Linked DNA regions of Homo sapiens: region 1 is linked to region 2. Evidence: promoter capture Hi-C in human tissues and cell types (Jung and others, 2019). All regions are on one chromosome and are shown on one strand. Each heading gives the region's core, a stretch centred on a gene start or on the middle of the fragment in contact. The rest is flanking DNA. Distances are from core to core; before and after follow the strand shown.

Evidence for each region. Contacts are between HindIII fragments. The study calls those that stand out against the background at their distance.
Region 1: a contact is called between a fragment that was not itself captured here and the fragment with the promoter of TMEM132E in region 2, in 1 of the 25 tissues and cell types used here (H1 embryonic stem cells).

Annotation. Positions count from the first base shown.
Region 1 is chr17:34,807,276-34,814,199 of GRCh38, reverse strand. All of the region lies in intron 3 of LOC105371742 (a long non-coding RNA gene), which reads left to right. Among named protein-coding and RNA genes, the nearest start is that of CCT6B, 150 kb to the left of the region's middle. The HindIII fragment of the contact is 4,882 bases long and covers 1-3,946 here.
Region 2 is chr17:34,577,880-34,584,808 of GRCh38, reverse strand. It overlaps TMEM132E (transmembrane protein 132E), which reads right to left and starts at 5,227. Exons shown (of 9, transcript NM_001304438.2): 1 at 3,666-5,227. The coding sequence starts at 3,732. TMEM132E-DT (TMEM132E divergent transcript) reads left to right here and starts at 5,440. Exons shown (of 2, transcript NR_160787.1): 1 at 5,440-5,938. RefSeq lists enhancers at 5,203-5,738, 5,739-6,275. The HindIII fragment of the contact is 28,166 bases long and covers 1-6,929 here.

The DNA of each region.
Region 1 (6,924 bases), core at 256-2,755, 230 kb before region 2:
AGAGACTATGAAGAAGGGAACAGTCATCATCTTCAGGGGATGCCATGGGGAGAGATTGGGCTTCTTCTGTGTGATCCTGGAGTTGGATCTAGGGCTCTGGGTGAATGTTGCAGGAAGGAAGTGCTTCTAACAATCAGAGCTCCACAGGGTGTCTTCCATGGTAGTGAATGCCCCATCAGTGTAGGAGTGTGGGCAGATGTTGTGTGCTCTCCTGGGGAAAATGTTGTAGAAGAGATTCTAGCTGCAGGTGGGGAGACACTGGGTTTGAAGATATTTATGAAGGTGGCTTCTAAGTCAGAGCTGCTAGGATTCTATAAAAATCAAGGAGTTTTACTTGCCCAGGGTTTAAAGCAATGTGTGTACACCCACGCACACTCCTACTCACACATGTACAAAGAGACATTCATGTGTACAAACCTTCAGACACGTGTGTACATGCACATGTTTACCTACATGCTACAGAGCATGTTTTCATATATAAGGGCACACACACACAAGCACAAATACAGGCATCAACAAACATGCACATACCTGCCAGTTCACACAGCACACATCTGCCTCAGCCTCTTTTCTCTGGCTGTTTATTTTCCCCCACTCCAGAGCCAGGGCCTCCCCGTGCAGCTTCCAGGCTGGTCTCTGGAGTCAGAGCCTTGCTTAATCTCCATTAGCTCTCTTATTTCCTGCACCAAATTAAAAGTGTGACCAAAAGTTAATTATTCTAATTCAATTTAGCCCTAATGTTCTGTACGTGGCGATGGGGAGGCCTGCGTGGAGGTGAAGCTGGCATAGGCAGGGGGAGGAAGCGTCAGAATTTAATATGTCTTAATGACTCTTACAGGAAAATGCCCTGAAGCCTTCTTCTCTGTGGATTTTCCCTGCCACTTCCCCAGGCCCAGCCCCCAGATTTTCTGGAAACCTCGGGGTGCTTTTGGGAGCTTAGCTTTGGGAAATATTTGAGGAGATAGCAGGCCTCTCTCTGGAGGCCAGGACAGAGGTGAAAAGGTTTGTGTGTGTGCGTTCGTGTGTGTTCGTGCATGTGCACAGGTGCCTATGTTGATAGAACACAGACCAGACTGTCATGTCAGAAGGCCTCCAGAGAGATGAGCCAAGGCCTCTCTTGCTGAGCCTTCATCCTTGGATAATGCTGAGAGAACTGAAGATCACTGCTTTTGCCGGACATGGGAACAGCCAGCCCTCCTCTCCTCCACCACAAATTATTTTTCAGATCAATCCCCTCCCTCTGCCTCTCTGCTACTTAGACTTCTCCGTGTATTCTTGCTCAGGAATGTAGGATCTGGGGACTCAAATCCAGCTTTCCCCAGTAGCCATGTCTTCCCTAAACACTAAGCCTGGCCCCCACATTTGAACATGGGGCTCTTAACGGGTGCTGAGGCCAGGGGCAGCTAGGGCAGATTCTGAAAAAAAGTTAGTCCTGTCTCTACAAAAGATACAAAAAAATAAGCTGGACATCATAATGTGTGCCTGTAGTCCCAGCTTCTTGGGAGGCTGAGGTGGCAGGATGGCTTGAGCCCGGGAAGCAGAAGTTGCAATGAGCCAAGATGGTGCCACCACACTCCAGCCTGGGAGACAGAGCCAGATCCTGTCTCAAGAAAAGAAAAAAAAAAAAAAAAAAAAGAAGGAAAGGAAAAGAAAAGAAAAGAAAAAGAGTTAGCATTCTTGTCCTGAGGGTTTTTGGTCTCCTGAGAGTGTCGAGCCCAGGCCTAGGGAGATCTTAGACTGATGGAGGAGGCAGCATCCTAGTTGGGGATGACAGATCATAAGATCACAGAATCTAAGGTCTTGAGAATGTTTTTGCGTTATGTCACTGATGTCAAGCTGCTAGCTGATGCTCATGTGGCTTCTGCAACATTCTCACCTGTTTGCACAGCCAGGAGTAGAAGCTTGCTGTCTCTTAAGGTCACCTGTTGTGCCTCTGTTAACATTACCTTCCTGTGTGTGGAGCTGTAATCTGCATCCCTGGGAATTTCCTGCCACTGGTCCTAGAGCTGCTGTCTCATGTCACTTGGGTCAACTCTGCTCTAAGATGATGGATAAAGTATTTAAGGACAGTGTACAATGTTCTCTGCTGAACCTCCTCCTCTACAGGGCAACAGTTCCTCAGCTGTTTGTCATGTGGTGAGGTTGTGAGCTAACCTGTATTAGTTGGGATAAGCCAACTGCTGTAAGAAAGACCCTGTCTGCAAATCTCAGTGGTTTAATTACCAGTAGTTGATGTGTCACTCACGTATTTGTCCAGTGCAGGTATTCAGTGGGCAACCTTCTGTGCAGTAATCCCACATCCCTGTTTCCTTCCATCTTGGAGCTCTTTCCTCTCCATTTAGACAGTGCATGGGGAAGAGAGAACCTGAAGGCTGCCTGGGAGGTTTTTATGGGTTGTGTCTGGAAGGGACGCACGTCATACTTGCCCACATTCCTTTGGCCAGCGCTCAGTCACATGGCTGCCCTACCTGCAAGAGAGGCTGCAAATAGAGTCTGGTGGTGTGCCCAAGAGGAAATGGGACACGGTTTGGGGAATAGCCAGTCTACTGTTCCATCCTTAGGTCATCCTTCTCCAAAATGCTGCAGCTTGTTCATATCCCATTTAAGGGAGATGCTCAGACATTTGAAAAAATAGGGGGCTAGGTATGGCCTGATCAGGTACTAATAGGAGCTCACCATTTCCTGAGCATATAGTATGTTCTAAGGAGCGATGTGCTGGGGCCGGCTCACACCAGCTCCTGAAAGCCAATTTGGCACATCTCTTCCCTGCTCCCATTTCAGGGACATCATATTTGTATCTTGAAACAAGTCTTGAGGGGAGTGTTGAAATCAAGGAAATGGACACATGCTGCAAGCCAGGGCTCCTCCCCAGCCCCTCAAGCTTGTGTCAGCACCCAACCCCCTGGCTTTACCTGTTGTTTTGCAGGAGCCTCACAAGACTCTTATGAAGCAGGCTCTGCCATTTCTATTTTATGGTTTAAAAAACTAAGGTCACAGGATTTGCCCAGCCAGTGCAGAAAGGGGCCAGACCCTGCTTCCCTGTTCTGGATGCATCCATCTCTTAGTTATTTCCTTCGGATGGCTGTCAGGATGGGAAGAGCTGAGCCCCGACCTCAGCTGCTGGTCTTATGCAGGGTGCCATGTCTCCTCCTCTGCATTGTCACCTCCTTGTGGCCAGGACCAGGTCTCAGTCTTTGTTCAGGGAAGTATCCAGCACATCAGCACACAGTAGGAGTTAAGCAAATACCTGTTTAACCAAATCTAGTAGGCCTTGTTCTGGGGAAGCCTCCAGCCGGTGAGGGAGAATAGACCTTTTCCCGACAGAACTCCCAATCTGATGGGGGAGGAAGTGCCCTGTTGTGTGGGTGCTCCAGCCCGAAAAAGGGATAAAGGCCTCCACTCACAGAAGCCCCAATCTGAAGACATGAGGAGTCTTGGCCTGGGTCCTACGGGGGCTTGCAGTTATTTGCAGAGCCATCGTTCTTTTCCATCAGGAACTCCTAATCAAACGGAGAAGGATTTAGATCCAACCTCCCTCATCAGAGTGTATTGGTGGCTATGGATGAAGTTTGGCTGGGAATCAGGGGAGAGAGGAGGATTAATCTGTAGGGAGTGTGGGTGGTATCCTCTACCCCTATGGCCAAGAGCTACTCGAGTCTATATGCCCCAGCACGATGTCTTCCCTTCCAAGAGCTCAGGGACGTGAGTGCAGGTCAAGGGAAGTGAATGCTCCACAAAGAAAGGCCTGATGCCTCTCTTCTGTCCCCTGCAGTTTGAGCCTTCATTCTTACCTTCTCATGAGAACATGCCGTAGATACAGGGCTGGGCAGTGGTTAGGAACAGGGGCTGAGTGCTGGGCCAAAGAGAGGGGATGTGTCTCCAGATGCAGCCCACTGGCCTCCCTGTGTTCCTGCATAGGAAGTGCTGGGGTCTAATTATTAGGAGCACTGATCTGTAGCGTGCATTAGGAGGAAACAAAGGGAAGTTATATTTTGTTCTTAATCCAATTAGGGAAAAATACCAGGTATGGTAGGTTTGTCTGTTACTTACTGGCTCAGCCAGCCATTCACCTGGGCATTCTGGCTTACTGCCTCCAGAAAGGCACAAGGAGTAAGTTAGCAGCCTGAGTGGCTGAAGGGTGAACCAGGAGGAAGGATGAGTGTGCATGGTAAGGGCAGGGGGTCATCTCCAGGATGAATGGGAAGTTGCCTGGACTTCACCTTTAGGCGACCCCAACACTGACCTTCTCACTAGACAGTAGGCATCTAGATACTAACCAACAGGATAGAGTTTGGTATAGGAAACTTCAGGGTTTCTCTATACCCTTGAAGGTTGGGCTGGATTTATATTTTCTGATAATCCTTTCTCCTCTTCCACTTCCTCTTCTCTCTCTCTTTTCTTTTCTTTCTCTTCTTCATACTTTAGGATTTATGAGGATGGTGAAGAGTGGAGAGGGGTTCCCAGCAAAGGATTTAGCATGAGTAAAATCAAGGAGGGATAGAAGAACCATCCTGAGCTAGAGGAGGTTTGAGAAGGAGAATACTGAGAGGTGAGACTGGACCAAATGTAAATGACCTTGAATGTCAGCCTGAGAGGTCTTTGAAGTCAGGGGCTGTGACTGATTCATTGTTGCATCTCCCGTACCTACCACCATCTAGCACATAGTAAGTGTTCAGTGAATATTTGCTGAGAAAATGAATGACACTATCCTGCAGACAGCGTGGAGCCTGAACCTCACCCAACAGAGGGGGTTGAGGGGGAGGGTGGCATGATCCAGACACTTACTAAGTACAGGTACACCCCAGGGCACAGGTTCTACAATGGAAAAGGCACTGGTATGGGGTTATAGCCCTGGAGAAGCTCGCTGTCTGTTTTAGTGTGTTCTCACACTGTTATAAATAAATACCTGAGACTGGGTAATTTATAAAGAAAAGAGGTTTAATTGGCTCATGGTTCTGCAGGCCCTACAGGAAGCGTTGTGGCTTCTGCTTCTGGAAAGGCCTTAGGAAGCTTCCAATCATGGCAGAAGGCAAAGAGGAAGCAAGGCATCCAACATGGCTGGAGCAGGTTGTTAAAAAGTGCTATACATGGCTGGGCGCGGTGGCTCACGCCTGTAATCCCAGCACTTTGGGAGGCCGAGGCGGGCAGATCACAAGGTCAGGAGATCGAGACCATCCTGGCTAACATGGTGAAACCCCATCTCTATTAAAAATACAAAAAAAAAATTAGCCGGGCGTGGTGGCGCATGCCTGTAGTCCCAGCTACTTGGGAGGCTGAGGCAGGAGAATGGCATGAACCTGGGAGGCAGAGCTTGCAGTGAGCAGAGATTGTGCCACGGCATTCCAGTCTGGACAACAGAGTGAGACTCTGTCTCAAAAAAAAAAAAAAAAAAAGCTATACATTTTTTTTTAAATTTTTTGAAATGAAGTTTTGCTCTCGTTGCTCAAGCTGGAGTGTAATGACATGATCTCGGCTCACTGCAACCTCCACCTCCTGGGTTCAAGCTATTCTCCTGCCTCAGCCTCCCTAGTAGCTGGGATTACAGGTGCGCGCCACCACGCTCGGCTAATTTTTGTATTTTTAGCAGAGACAGGGTTTTACCATGTAGGCCAGGCTGATCTTGAACTCCTGACCTCAGATAATCCGCCCTCCTTGGCCTCCCAAAGTGCTGGGATTATAGGCATGAGCCACTGTGCCTGGCCAAAATTACTATACACTTCTAAACAACCAGATCTCATGAGAACGCACTACTGCGACAACAGGACCAAGAAGGATGGTGCTAAACAAGTCATAAGAAACTGCCCCCATGATCCAATCTCTTCCCACCAGCCCCCCCTCCAACATTGGGAACTGAACATGAGATTTGTGTGGGGACACAGATCCAAACCATACTGCTGTCCAATTAGAAGGATAATCCATTCATGCATGAAGGATCGTAAGGCAACGTGTGTGAGAAATAGCACAGACTTGCTGAGGAGCTTCAAAGTAAGAAACACATAGTTGTGGGGATAATTAGGGAAAGGTTCTTGGAGAAAACTGGGCTTTGATTTGAATTGGTGGAGGGGAGGTGGGAGGGCATTTCCAGTAGGAGGAACAGTAGGAGCAAAGGCAGGGGGCAATAGGTGTTTGTTGGGAGGGGGCAGTGAAGAGGCTGCTCCATTTTAATCAGCTCCTAGAACTGGAAAGACTGTTTTTGGTTTGTTTATTTGTTTTTTTCAGATCAGCAAACTGAGGCTCAGAAAGTGGAAATAGGAAGCACAGCAAATGCTAAGAGGATCAGAACCTTATGGATCCCAATCCAGTGCTCTTTCCTCTACACCACACCACTGGCTACCCTTTCAGACAGAGCACAGAGCAGACATTTAACCAACTTAGTCACAATATGTCAAGGGAGGAGAAAGAAGCCCACATTGTGTGCCCTTTCTAGGCATTTGCATTATTCTAAATGTCTTGCACCTTTAATATGTTTCCATTTGCAGACACTAGAAAAGTCCTGGGCACCCTGTGGGGTGATGAGGGAAGATGACGTGCATGTGTGTGTGTGTGTGTGTGTGTGTGATGGAGACATGGCTTGGGTGGGTGCAGAGTTCCAACTCAGTTTTCCCTATGGGAAGCCTGGGTGCCTATCTCCTTGGCTTTTACCTTGACCAGGGAGGGTAAGCAGTTTCTGTTCAGGGCAGACTCACTGGATCTCACTTTGGGATTTGGGGACTTGGACTGGAGTTCTTTATTTGAACTGTTACTCTTTTCTTCTTTTGTGGTCAAAATCCTCCCCATAATGATGGCTTTGGGGAGAGTTTTTGCTTTTCCTTCGACTAACTCTCTGTTGTCTCAGACTTTGCAGTGTGCACATCAAGTTTCTCGGGGCCAATCCTGGCTTTGTTTCTGGGACCTCTGCTGTTTAAAAAGAAAAAGAACAAAGTT
Region 2 (6,929 bases), core at 3,978-6,477:
CATGGGTCTTGTATGTGCCCACTCAAGGGGCATGGCATGGGCCTGCTCCATCCTCTTGCTCTCTTTGTGGTATCTCTGCCTGTCTCCTCCCCTGCCCCTCTTCTGCCCTCTACCCCAGAGCTCCCTTTTCAACTGATGCTGGGAGGGTCCCTCAATACAGAGTTGTCCTCCTACCCCATCCATTTCTTCTGAGCACCTGCTATGTGTCAAACACTGGAGAGCCATGCAAACACATAGAAGACATGGCTCCTGCCCTAAATGCAAGAACGTGGGGATCAGGAGGATTGCACAGGTAAGCATGCCCATGTATACCCCTCACACAGCAGCCTATGAGGAAAAAGTGCTAGAAAAGTAGCATGAAGTACCAAAGAAGTCATGGAAAAAGTTCATTTATTTCTATCAGGGTATGGGGACTGCTGGTGAGAAGCTAGGGGGTAATCTACGGAGGCTCCCTGGAGGAGGTGACATTTGAACTCCGCTTTGAAGGTTAAGTAAGAATTTCTGGAGGCAAAGTATTCCAGATGGAGGGGCTGGTGGGTGCAAAAGCAGAAAGGCAGGAAAGTGAGAAAAGCAATACCTCATAGGGCACACGGAGGATGGCGAGAGGCCAGTATCTTTGAAGTAAAGATGTGGATTTGGACAAGATCATAAATGGCTTTGGATGCCAGGGCAATGAGTGTGCCCTTGATCCTAGAGGCTGTGGGGAACCAGTAATTGTTCCTGAGTAGTGAGCTGACATAATCAGCCCTCTAACAGATTTATCCACCACGCTGACCCCTAAACTCCTATTCAAACTAACAGTGGGGCTGGGAGTCTCCCCAAATATTAGATACAAGAAAGTGGCCTTCACAGATGTTCCCTGGAAGAGGGCTGGAGACTGGGAACAGTGTAGAGGTGCCCAAACACACCACTCTGCCTATCTCATGGGCTGAACTGGGCCCTGAAAAGGTAGTAAGGCTCCATTCACACATGGTCTCTGTCCAGGAGTCCTGGCAGAAACTGGAAAGGGGAAAGAAAGGCCAGAGACCACGCTGCCTGTGGAAGATGGGGAATGTGAGGGAGGCAGCCCAAGGTCACCCTGCCCGGTGGCGCCAGAGTCAGACTGAAACCCAGGCTACTTGGCTCCCAGTCTGGCTGTGTGGTCAGAACCCTGTGACCTCAATTGCCTGCCAGGCACAGAAAACTGCAACTGTCCCTCTATCTCCCAGCATTTTAGAAAAGCCCCGGAACCCCAACCAAGAGTCAGTTTAAAGGGAGACTAAGTCCCCGGACCCTATTCTTAACAGAGGGAAGGGGTGGCTACGTGGGTGTCAGGCAGCCCTGGAGGAGGAGGGCAGCCCAGGCAAGATGGGGTTTTATTGTGGGGGGATTTCTATCATACTGGCCTTACCCATCTGGGGGATCCCCCAAGTTTTAAGTATCTGCTGGCACCCTTCTCTGAGGCAGGGGAGACTGAGACATGCGATGGAGAAGAGAGTTCAGGACTCAGGGAAGGAGGTTGGAAAGGAAGCCAGATAGTCAGGAGGGGAAATGTCCGCTCAGTAGGGCGATTCAGACCCTACCTCCTCAAATACCTTCTTTCTGCTCAGGCAGCCAAGCCCTCTGCCCTAGGTGTGCTGTCACTGTGTTAGGCACTGGCTGTGTGGAGAGACAGGGAATAAGCCCATGGCTCTGCCTCCACCAATCCAGGACTACTGGGGCACAGAGAGGGCACTGGTGCCTAAGGAAAAAAGGAGGCCAAGGCCAAGACCAAGGGAAGGCAGCCAGGACGCTAAGGCCCAGCTGGAACTGCGTCTTAGGAACAGGCAGGATTCTGGCAGGTGAGGAAGGGAAAGGGATCTTTAATTCCAGGCTCAGGGATCGGGAAGGTGGGCAGAGGGACCCTAATGACAGAGTTTGAGCTGCCCATCATCAGCGTTTGAGGTGACGCCATGGTTGGGCTTTGGGAAGGGAACTCCGACAGCAAGATGTAAGAAGAGGGGAAGAACCCACCTAGACTCAGGCCTGGGTTTCTGGGCTTCCTCCTACTGGGCAGGGAAACTCCCTGCCGGCCAGTGCTAGGTCACAAGTGCAGCCCATGCAGCTCCAGTGCGCAGACAGGCAGCCCACCTCCCTCTCCCCCACCTTCATTCTCAGTGTTGCACACAGAGCCTAGAGATTTCTGGTTCCCCGCTATGCTCCCACTTCGCCCCACCTCACCCTCGCCCCCCTGCTGGCTCGCTGCTCTGCCTATTCCTCCCATAGAGAACTGAGGTTAGCTGTCTCTGGTGAACTGAACGCAAAACAACCCCCCCTGGTGTTACCTCAGCCGGGAATAACCAAGCCACCCATAGAGGGAGGTCTGCCTGCTCCCCGCCCCCCTCCTAGCCCCAGGACCCTACGATTCCGAGAGCCCCTCTTTTTCTTATTCTCTCAACCTTGAGAATGCGCTTTGGTCAGGGTGAAAGAGGCCGCTGGTTAGAGACCTTGGGCACACTCCTGGCGAGCTTGAGCAGGCTCTTAGGGACTGGGCAGATCTGGGCAAGAGCTGAGCCCGGCACACCGAGGGCGCTCCACCAATGCGGAGAGCCCACTGCCCCCTCCATCTAAGCGCCCTCCATTCTGCCTGAGGCTCACCCCTCAGCGTGGAGCATCGAAACACCCCCGCCCCCCAACCCCGCCACGCCTTGCTGGTTAAGAAAATGTATCCCAGGTCGGCTGGTTTCACGTTAGGAGGGAGCAGAGGGCCCCGCTTCTCCACTCTCCTTTCGGAGCTCTCTCCCTCCCACCTCGGTCTGCTCCCCTCGCCTCCTGGAGCGTCTCCAGCTTGCGGAAGGCCCGCTGCAGCCTCCTTCCCTCTGGTCTGATTTCCCATTCTTGGGGGCTGTTCAAAAACCCGCTGCCCCCCACCCGTATGCCCGCTGTCCCACCGCCAAAGCGCGCCAACCTCAATCCCTCCTTCTCCCACCCCCTTTACCGCGGAGCCCGGGGCGAGCCTGGGGAGCAGACGCAACAGATTGCAGAATGCGAGAGCGCGGAGCCCGCTCCCTCCGCGCGCGGCCCGCGGCCCACCGCCCCGGCCTGTGCGGGTGCCCAGACCCCCGCCCTCCGGGCTCGCCTAAGCCGGCCATTTAGATGCAGCTCACAGGACCGCGGGCGTGCGAGCCGCGGCGGCTCCCCGGCCCGGAGTCAGTCCACTTCCCTTCCCGAGGACCGCCGCAGGAAGCGAGGCGACGGGCGGCGCGGCCCCGCACCGGCCTGCGCGCCCGGGGCGAGGAAAGACGCGATCCCGGCGGATCCCAACAGCCCCCAGCCCGGCCGGCTGCAGGGAGAGACGGGGGCGGGGGGCGGCCTGGACGCGATCCGGAGGATCCCTCGGATCCCTCTAGATTTCCGTGGGCGGACACGACCCCAGACCTTCGGGTTCGAACCCTTCTTTATAACCAGGAGAGGACTGGAGCGACACCCTCCCCCCACCCTTTTCTGGCGCCGGGCTCGGTCCCCTCAGCTGAGCTCGCCGGAGGGCTCGGGGGCTGGCGGTAACTCGAGCTGCAGCCAGAGACGCCAAACCCGGAGTGGCGGCTGCGAGTCCAGGGGGTGTGGGTGCTCCTCTCCCCAGTCTTCCCCGTACCCCCTCCAGTGGCGCCTGCCGCATCCTCACCCCCAGTCCGCGCCGCGACACTTACCGTGGGCGAGTAGCGCTGAGAGGCAGAGCAGGGCGGCGCCGCCGCGGCCCGACATCCCCGGGGCCATGGCCGAGGCGGGGGCGGGAGGGGTCCGAGAGAGCAACAGTCGACGACGACTTGGCCCCAGGCTGGGCTTGGTCACATCCAACTCAGGGCTGCCGTGGCGCCCGGCTGTCTCAGATGCAGCTCCGGGACCAGAGAGTGCAATTCGGGGACACTTTGCGGGGAGGGGGCGTCCCAGGCGCTGGCGGCTACACCCTCGGAGCCGGTGGGGGCGCAGCTCCGGGCGGGAGGAGCCTCCACCTCCCCCAGCTGGTGCCCCCTGCAGGATCTGCGAGGCGCGGGGGGAGCTGCACGTGCAGTCCGGAGCCCGGTGGCCGCGGGCGTCCCGGGGGCTACCTAGAGCCCAGTGCTGAATCTCCCGGCCTCACGGCCCAGCTCGAATCCGAACTCACTCGAGGGTGCCGACTTCCAACGCAATCCCCAGTTTCCTCGGTTTCGGTAGTAACCGCACATGGATAGCGCCGCTTTCTTCCTCCAAGCCCCTGCAGCAGCCCAGCATAAAAATCCCAGGTCAGGTGCAAATGAATGCTGTCTTTCTCAAAGAAAGAGAAAATCCAGACAACTTTAATCCATCTGGAGAAGGAAAAGTTTCCGTGCGGTGCTGAAACTGGCGACGCCGGTCGCCACCACCCTAGGCGACGCCCAGACCGGATGCCCGAGGCGGGCGGCCAGATGTTTGTCCCCTCGCAAGGCTCGCTCCTCCGCTCCAGCGCGCTTTCTCCAGTCTGGATCAGGGCCCAGGCTCCACACAGGCCGGCTCAGCGCCTCCTGCCCAGGCAGCCGCTCGGCGGCTGGGGCAAGGGTGGCGCGGCCAGAACGGGCTGCCCCATGTAGATGGGGCTTGGAGAAGCGAGGGAGCGAGAAAGCCGGCTAATGCGCCCTGCCCCGAGCCCTTCCTGCCCAGGACGTCGACTCCAGCTTGATGACCATAAACGCTGTAAGATGCAGAGGGGCTCCTGCAGCTCACGGCAGCTCCGGGCCACCCCGCTAAGGTCTCGCTGTCTCGGCAGAGAGGCGCGCTGCCCCGCCTCGCTCCTCGCCTTCCCTGGGGGAACCTGCACAAACCTTGAACTTTTCTGGGGTTCAGAGTCTCCGACGCCTCCTCCCCGCCGCCCCCACCCTGTCCCCGGACGCCCGTTCGCCCGCTGTCTCGATGCTGCCGGGCATCGGCTCCCGCTCCCTCCGAGTCAGTTTGGGCGAGCGGATCGCCGCGCCAGTCCGGGCTGCGGGCGGTGAGACGCGGGCGCGGCGCCAGGGGCCAGGGCAGCCGGCACCTGCGCAGCTTGCGGCCAGGGAAGCGGCAGCTGGTGCCTACGGGGCCGAGAGGAGAGGAGGTGCTGGCAGGGGAGCCGGCTCCCCATGGACGTGTGTGGGGGAAGAAGAAGAATCGAGGAGCAAAAAGGAAGAGGAGGTGGGGGAAGCCACAGTTGCACGAAGCAGCCGCCGCCGCCGTCGCCGCCTCCTCGGCGCTCGCGCCGGCTGCTCCGCCGTAAATGACTCGAGAGAGACACACACACTCGCGCTCGCCCGCCCTCCTCCTCCGTCCGGGATTCAGCGCCCACCCGGGCAGAAGCGGGCGCCGAGCTTGGCGCGCTCACTCCCACCCCTCCCAGATTCCCCGTGGTCACGTGGCCCCCGAGCGCGCGGCCCACAGCTCGCGCGCCACGGAGACTCCCCGACTCCTAGCTCCCCCTCCTCTGTCCACGTGTCCATTCCGCATTCCTAGCCTGGCGGCGCGCGCGGCTCCTTAATGAGACTCGGGCCAAGGGCCGACCTCGCGATTCCGCTCGCCCCTATTTTATGTTTGATTTTTCCTTCCCAACGCCGGCTAGCGCTGGGACCCGAATGGGGCCGGCCAGCTGCGGCGGGAGGAGCCTCCACCTCCCTCAGCTGCGTTTCTCCAGGGTAGACGCCACCGCAGTCACTGATGTCCCTTTTCAAAGGATGCACGCTCCCCACCGGGCGCCGGAGGTGTTTTGCAGCCGCTCTTCCAGAGGCGCGGGTAGGGGGCACCCTACCCCCACCCCCAGAGTTCGCTGGGCACTGGCTGGGAATCAGCCTCGCTGCTGTGCCCAGCTCCTCTCGGGCCGCGGGGGCTCTGGGGCTCAGCTTCGTGCGGGATGGGTCCGGGGCGCAGCTGTGGGAAACCTATTTATTCTGTTGCTGGGGAAGGAAGACGGAGAAGAGGAGGGGACAGTGCTTTCCTACAGGTTGTTTAGCAAGCCTTTAAAGAGGCATGAGGTGGGGGTGGGGAACTGCCCCTCTTGCATACTCACCCAGGCACCTGCTGACTAGCGGGAGGGGTGGCTGGAGTGATATCTGTTCCCACCATCAGGCCCTTTCCATTAGAGTGCAACCTAGATCAGACCCGGCAAGTCAACCTTCACACCTCATCTGTCAACCAGGCATCGGATCCATGGCAATGATTTTATAGCTTCGTTGGGTATCAACTCCAATCCCCAGAGGGTGAATTTCAATCCTACCCTGCTCTGGAGGGACAGGGTCTTCAATCCCATGGACATATCCCTACTGGGGAGGATATGGATCTTGAGGGTCACCCTTCCATACCTCTGCACTCAACTGGAGTGAGAGTGTGGGGCCAGGTCAGAGCAAAGCCAGCTGGGGCACTCAAACCGTGCCCTCCATCTGCCTGACTCCATGCTAGCCCTCTTGACCCTGAGAGTTTCCTTTCATCTAGGACGGTGACATTTTGTTTTTGGAAAATGTGCTTGCATTTTTCATGGAAGGCTTCCTCCTCCCTGGCTGCTGGCTGTTGCTGCCTCGCTTGGTACTGGGGCCTGTAGAGGGCTGCTCTGGCCCTTCCCCCACCCCTACATCTGTCTGGAGCTGGGGGGAGGTGCAGCCTGAGGAGAGCTGGCCAGCTCTTGGAGGCCCTGGGGATAGAAGGTGCTGGAGTCGTCAAAGAAGATTATTCTCATTAGGCCCCTAATGCCTGATGGCAATTAATGTCACCCAAGGGCTTATTCACCAACCCCCTGAGAAGCAAGCTAGCAATCAGGCTCTGTGTGGGGGAGAAAGGGGGAAAGATCCACCTCCTGAGGCAGAGGAGGGCTTCAGGAAGAGGAGGAAGGAAGCAGGGAGGGCCCTCCATCCCTGCCCAGCACCCCATCAGAAGGGTCATGGAGCCTGAGCATGGCCAGAAGGAAGAGACAAGGTGCTTTTCTGAGCCCAAGACACACC